Regions from separate parts of the Homo sapiens genome. Here region 2 is linked to region 1. The links are contacts of gene promoters, found by promoter capture Hi-C in blood cells and fetal thymus (Javierre and others, 2016). All regions are on one chromosome and are shown on one strand. The core of a region is centred on a gene start or on the middle of the fragment in contact, and the rest is flanking DNA. Distances in the headings are between cores, read along the strand shown. Region 1 holds the start of CAPN11 (calpain 11). Region 2 overlaps AARS2 (alanyl-tRNA synthetase 2, mitochondrial).

Region 1 (3,297 bases), core at 569-3,068:
AGACCTCAGCCCCCACCTCTGGTTAGCCGAGACCCTCTCATTCCTCATCTGCCCAGCATGCCTTCCCTTTCCTGCAGGGCCTGAAGTTCAAAGCCAGGTTCCAGCATTTCCAAATGTGAAACTCCAGATAATGCCCAAGCAGCACACTGAGCAAGAGTCCTGAGGACAGCCCTCCCCCAGGGTGGGAGGCTGTAATAGAGAGGAACACCCGTGCCTGCCTGCACCCTACCCCTGGCACCTCGTCACAGAGTTCATGTCCAGGCAGATCACATTAGAGGCATCCAAGAGGTGCAATAGTGGAATCAGGAGTGGGCAGGGGAGACCACAGGATCCCCAAAGACCACTTCCTCCTTTCACAGCTGGGGGCAGCAGAAGATACGGATAAGAGCTAAAGTTATGGCCGGGCACGGTGGCTTATGCCTATAATCCTAGCGCTTTGGGAGGCCGAAGCGAGTGATCACCTGAGGTCAGGAGTTCGAGACCAGCCTGCCCAACATGGCGAAACCCCGTCTCTACTAAAAATACAAAAATTAGCTGGGCATGGTGGTGGGCACCTGTAATCCCAGCTACTTGAGAGGCTGAGGCAGGAGAATCGCTTGAACCCGGGGGGCAGAGGTTGCAGTGAGCTGAGATTGCACCACTTCACTCCAGCCTGGGCAAAAGAGCGAGACTCCATCTCAAAAAAAAAAAAAAAAAAAAAAATCTGAAGTTATTAGTTTAAATCCTGGCTCGACCGCTTAACAGCTGTGTGACCCTGGGCAAGTTGCATCATACCTCTAGACCTCACTTTCCTCATCTATAAAATGGGAATAGCAATGTCATGGCCTCTGGCTGTTTTAAGGATTAAATAAGTAGGAAGTTCTTAGCCCAGTGTTTGGCACATAATAACAAACCATAATTAATATTCTCGTAGATGAGGAGATTGAGTCCCAGAAAGGAGAAAGGGGGAGGGCTCGCCCAAGGTCAGCTCCTGTTTCAGAGCTTGGAACAAGGTTCTCTGATCCCATTGGGTGCTCTCACACCTGTTCTGTGCCTGATTAGCACCAGGCAGGGCTGAGGGGCACTGGGATGACCTTGACAGTCCCTGTCCTCAGCCATCATACACTCCAGAGAAGACTGCACTCTGGAGCAGAGTTCTTAGCTCAAAGCATTCCCACTTTCCAGTGCAGAGGCAGGACATGTGGTCAGACCAGTGGCCTAACCTTGCCAGACTGGGGCTAGGCAAGGAGAGTGTTGCAGGTGGAATCGTGTCCCCCAAAAAGGCATGTTGAAGTCCTGGCCCCCAGTACTTCAGAATGTGACCTCATTTGGAAACAGGGTGGTTGCAGATGTAATTCGTTCAATTAAGATGAGGTCATACTGAAATGCATGGGACCCTAGCCCCATATGACTGGTGTCCTTATAAGAAGAAGAGACACAGAGGAGGGTGCCATGTGAAGACAGCAACACAGGAAAAATGCCATGTCAGTGAGAAAGGGGCTTTTGGGAATGAGAAGGCTTTCTGGATGTAAAGGTCAGGTTGGTGTGTCAGGGACAACCCCTTCCTGGAAACCTTGGGCTGAAAAAAAGGGACTGGGACCTACCCTGATGGGATGACCGTGATACAGTGAGGACAGCCAGGCTGGTGGAGGCTGTGCAAGGCAGGGGTGCTGGGTCATCTGTCCCTAAAGCGGGTAGCCCTCAGCTGGGTAAGGGGCTGGGTTACTGAGAAGGAGAAAAGGGAAGGCAGCTGTTAAACCGGCTGCTGACCTAGGAATCCCACTGCAATGAGAGAGTTCTGGGGGGAGGGTCTCTTCTCCCCCTCCCACCAGAACCTTCAACTGTCAAGCACCGAGCTAGCCACCAGCATGCTGTACTCCCCAGGTAGGCACTCATGGGGCCTTGCCCCACTCCTGTACCTCCTGCAGGCTAGAGCCTCCCCCCAGGGGAGGAGCTGTGTCCCGCATCAGACTGGGTGCCCCTTGAGGGTACAGAGAGTGACTCTTCCATCAGACTGGATGCCCCTTGAGGGTACAGAGAGTGACTCTTCCATCAGACTGGATGCTCCCTAAGGACAGGACCTGGGCCTCGTTCTCAGACTGTTTGGGGAAGGATAGGCCACTGGTGGTCAGACTGGGTGGTAGGCCGGGCAGGAACTCTTTCTCCTCTCCACTGACAGTTGGAGTTGGGGAGAGGAGAGGGGCCGGCCATCCCACTGTCATGGCTGCTGGGGAAAAGGGTTTGTGTGAAAAAGCCCACGTAGAGAAGAAAACTTTAGGGAACAGAGAGAACCTCTCCTAAGCCTAGAAAAGCAGGTCCCTCAGCCCAGGAAGATGAGATCCTCAGGGTGGCAGGGGCAGGACTACCTGAGGCAAGCCTGGGACCAGACTCCAGGAGATGGGGGAGAGTGGGCTGGGGGGAAGGGGAGGGCTGGGCAGAACTGAGTTGTTCCTGTGGGGCTAGGGTGCACAGAGGGCAGCCAGCCTTGGCCAGCAGAAGGTCAGCCCTGTACCTCACCCTCAGCCTGGGGCACCGTGAGACCATGGGCCCCTAGACCCAGCCTCCCAGCTTCTCAGGCCCTCCCTGTTTACCTGACCCTAGGAAGTTTAGGCCTAGCTGGTGACCCCAAACCCAGTCCTTGTTCTTCAGAAGTGCCCTGAGCCCAGGAGTTCAAGACCAGCCTGGTCAGCATAGCAAGACCTCATCTCAAAATATAATTTATTTATTTATTATTATTACTTATTAGTATTTATTTTTTTTTAAAGTTCCCTGACACAACATCTTAGTTTTTTCCCAGTGCCGGAAATCAAACTGTCCTTAAATCTATAGTCCCCTAATAACAATGTATTGCATTTAGAAAATCACTGAGAGAGGCCAGGCACAGTGGTTCACGCCTGTAATCCTAGCACTCTGGGAGGCCAAGGCAGGTGGATCATCTGAGGTCAGGAGTTCGAGACCAGCCTGGCCAACATAGTGAAACCGTGTCTCTACTAAAATACAAAAATTAGCCATGCGTGGTGGCGGGCGCCTGTAATCCCAGCTACTCGGGAGGCTGAGGCAGGAGAATCTCTTGAACCCAGCAAGTGGAGGTTGCAGTGAGCCGAGATCGTGCCACCGCACCCCAAGCCTGGGCGACACAGCGAGACTCCATCTCAAAAAAAAAAGAAAATCACTGACAGTAGATTTTAAGTGTTCTCACCACAAACAAATAACAAGTATGTGCAGTAATGCAGATATTAATTAGCTCAACTGAGCCATTCCACAGTGAATACATATTTCAAAACACCATGTCGTATACAACAGATATATACTTTTTTT
Region 2 (3,297 bases), core at 534-3,033, 150 kb after region 1:
ATCCGACGAAGAACCAGCCTAAAGGGGTTCAGAGCCCAGACATGAATCCCCAGCGGCTCATGGTCAGCAATATGGGGAGTGGGAAGGACGAGGTCCAGTGTGTGCTCCCACCTCAAAGCTCTCCCTCTCCCCATTCCTCCTACTGGCTCAACCAGACCCACCTCTCCTGTTCCCTCCCTCCTCCACCTGAGACCCCCAGCAGCCCCTGTCCTCTCTGTAGCCCTTCCAGACTCACGGGGGACCTGACATCCCAGGGAAGATGCCATCAGAGATGCAGACACTGAGTGTGCGGATGTGGTCAGCCACCACGCGGTACGCTGTGTCTGTGCGCCCCTCGTCTGCCACCCCTACTCGGCCCAAGTAAGGGGGTGCCCTGCAGCCCTGGGAAGCAGAAGAGTCAGCCAGTGGCCCTGCCTGACCTGGCCCAGGTGGGTGCTCTTTATCGCCTCTAGAGCATCTGCCCTCAGCCCTAAAGCCAACCACATCCAGAATGGCCTTGCCAGTCCAGTCCTGGGCTGAGAAGCCTCACAGATGAGCACAAGCCAGGCCCTGCCCTCACGGGGCTCATATTTGGTGCTACAAGTGAACATATCTGTGACCATTTACTGAATTTCTACTATCAGAACTGGGTGAGTACTTGAACAACATGGCCTCGAATCCCCAAAACAGCCCATTCCAGGAGGTATTAGCATGCTTGCTTTAAAGAAGAAGAAGCTGAGGCTCAGAGGAACTCAGTGACACAAGGCTACCCAGCTCTCAAGGAGCAGATCTGAGATCTCAGCCGGGCCTGTTGGACTCCAGGTGCTCTCCACTACCTGTTCTTGCCTCTCCCATCTTTTGTGGGGGTGGGCAGGGAGGGAGAGTGTAAGCTACATACACGGAAATGCTCCAAAGCAGGGAGCTTGATTCACTTACCACCAAACCTCTCTCTTCCCCAAGCTTCTTCGTCTAACAGTCATGCCATTCACTGTGTTGCTCAAGTCAATAGCCTGGGAGCCATCTTTGAATTCTTTTTCCCCTACCCGTCATGATCCATCAGTGGTTCCTTTTGCTCCTACCTCCATGACATCTCTCAAATCAATCTACTTGTCTCTACTTCCACTGCTATTATCCGAAGCATGCCCTGTGGTCCTTGCCTGGACCGATAATAGCCTCCCAACTGATTCCTAAGTTTCTGCTCTCATCTCCCTCCAGCTCATCCTCCACACAGCAACAGGAGTAGCCTTTTAAAAGTGTACATCAGGCTGGGCGCGGTGGCTCACACCTGTAATCTCAACACTTTGGGAGGCTGAGGCGGGTGGATCACCTGAGGTCAGGAGTTTGAGACCAGCCTGGCCAATCCTGGTGAAACCCCATCTGTACTAAAAATACAAAAATTAGTCAGGTGTGTTGGCGGGTGCCTGTAATCCCAGCTACTCTGGAGGCTGAGGCACGAGAATTGCTTGAGCCCCGGAGGCAGAGGTTGCAGTGAGCCGAGATCATGCCACTGCACTCCAGCCTGGACAACAGAGCAAGCAAGACTCTGTCTCAAAAAAAAAAAAGAAGGGTTCTCAGTGGGGAGTGTGGCATGATCTGATGTACACTTTTATTTATTTATTTTTTTTGAGATGAACTCTCACTCTGTTGCCCAGGTTAGAGTGCAGTAGCACGATCTCAGCTTACTGCAACCTCCACCTCCTGGGTTCAAGAGATTCTCCTGCCTCAGCCTCCCAAGTGGCTGGGACTACAGGTGTGTGCCACCATGCCTGGCTGATTTTTCTATTTTTTTAGTAGAGACAGGATTTTGCCATGTTGGCCAGGCTGGTCTCCAACTCCTGACCTCAAGCGATCCGCCCCCCTCTGCCTCCCCAAGTGCTGGGATTACAGGAGTGAGCCACCGTGCCCAGCCCTGAGAACTCTTCTCACCACTCTGAGAATCAAGGCCCCACTTTGGACTTTGAGGCCCACAAGACTGGATTCTGCCTTCTTCTCTGTGAGACTGTTCACAAAAATGGCCCTTTCCTAGGCATATGCCACTTTAAAATGGGACTTTACAGCTGTTTCCCATCAAGGGACAGAATCCATTTCTCCATCCCCTGAATCTCTGCTGGCTTTGTGACTTGCTTTGGCCCATAGAATACAGTGGAAACAACACTGTTCTGAGCCTATGTGTCTGCTCTCTGTCTTGGAACCTTGCTGAGCTGTGATGTGGACAAGCCCAGACTAGCCAGCTAGGTGATGACAGACACATGGTCCAGTCACCCCTACTGCCCCCAAACTGACAGCCAGCCAAGCCCCAGAGGAGCTGCGGCCTCTCAGCTCACCACAGATGGATGAATGAGCTCACACAAGACCAAAGAATGAGCCAGCTAAGCCCAGCCTAAACGCTAGCTCACAGACTCAGGGGGCAGATACATGGTTGTTGGTTAAGCCACAGAGCATTAGGGTGGTTATACAGCAAAAGCCAACTGACACATGTTCCTACTATATCCCATGGGATTCTCCTTTAGCTGGCTGGCCACCTTTTAGTTTTTGGCACATGTCAAGCCCTTTCTTGCGGGGCAAGGAGGGAGGGTATAAGCTACACACATGTGGAAATGCTCCAAAGCAGGGAGCTTGATTCACCTAGCTCCAAACCTCTCTCTTCCCCAAGCTTCTTCATCTCAGTAAACAGTCATGCCATTCACTGTGTTGCTCAAGCCAATAGCCTGGGAGCCATCTTTGATTTCTCTTTCCCCTCCCCATCTAATCCATCAGTACCAAGGCCCTTGGTACCTGCTGTCCCCTCTGCCTGGAAAGAACTTCCTGTAGCTGACTCCTCCTTTGGGGCTCAGCTCAAAGGTCATCTTCTTGGTGAGCCTTCCCCAAGCACCTTATCTAAGATTCCTCTGTACCCCTCCTTCTTCCTAGTTACTTTCACCCATGTTTACTGCCTGTTCACAATCTGTAAGCTATTACCTTGTTCTTTAACACATTTATTGATTGTCTATCTCTCATGCTAGCATATAATCTCCATGATCTCTTTCCTGCTTACTGCTGTGTCTTCTGTACCAAACACAAAGGATTTAACATAAAGTAAGCACTCAACACGTATTTTCTAAATAAATGAAAGAGGCAAGGAGTTAGGAGGAACATCAGGTAATAAGTAATGAATCCTAGTGTCTTGCTTGACGTCTTGGAATTCTTGGTTGGTTATTGTCCTCAGATGCTGAGAACACTCTGAGTTCTCAACAAAGATGGAATGCAATGGGGCTGAGGGCTGTGAAGAGCAGGTTAGAGGGCTTCTGGAAGGGAAGAGGCACTCACCTGCTGTATGGC

The links. Contacts are between HindIII fragments. The CHiCAGO score rates a contact against its expected background, and 5 or more counts as called.
Region 2: a fragment that was not itself captured here is called in contact with the fragment with the promoter of CAPN11 in region 1 in 1 of 17 cell types (naive B cells); the score reaches 6.5 in naive B cells.

The regions. Positions count from the first base shown.
Region 1 is chr6:44,157,002-44,160,298 of GRCh38, forward strand. CAPN11 (calpain 11) reads left to right here and starts at 1,819. Exons shown (of 23, transcript NM_007058.4): 1 at 1,819-1,863. The coding sequence starts at 1,848. LOC107986599 (a long non-coding RNA gene) reads right to left here and starts at 1,602. Exons shown (of 3, transcript XR_002956350.2): 1 at 1,584-1,602. RefSeq lists an enhancer at 2,996-3,165. The HindIII fragment of the contact is 9,288 bases long and covers 1-3,297 here.
Region 2 is chr6:44,307,014-44,310,310 of GRCh38, forward strand. It overlaps AARS2 (alanyl-tRNA synthetase 2, mitochondrial), which reads right to left. Exons shown (of 22, transcript NM_020745.4): 5 at 3,286-3,297; 6 at 236-381; 7 at 1-18. It overlaps LOC124901322 (a long non-coding RNA gene), which reads left to right. Exons shown (of 3, transcript XR_007059594.1): 1 at 1-62; 2 at 221-428. Among named protein-coding and RNA genes, the nearest start is that of AARS2, 4.7 kb to the right of the region's middle. The HindIII fragment of the contact is 1,693 bases long and covers 938-2,630 here.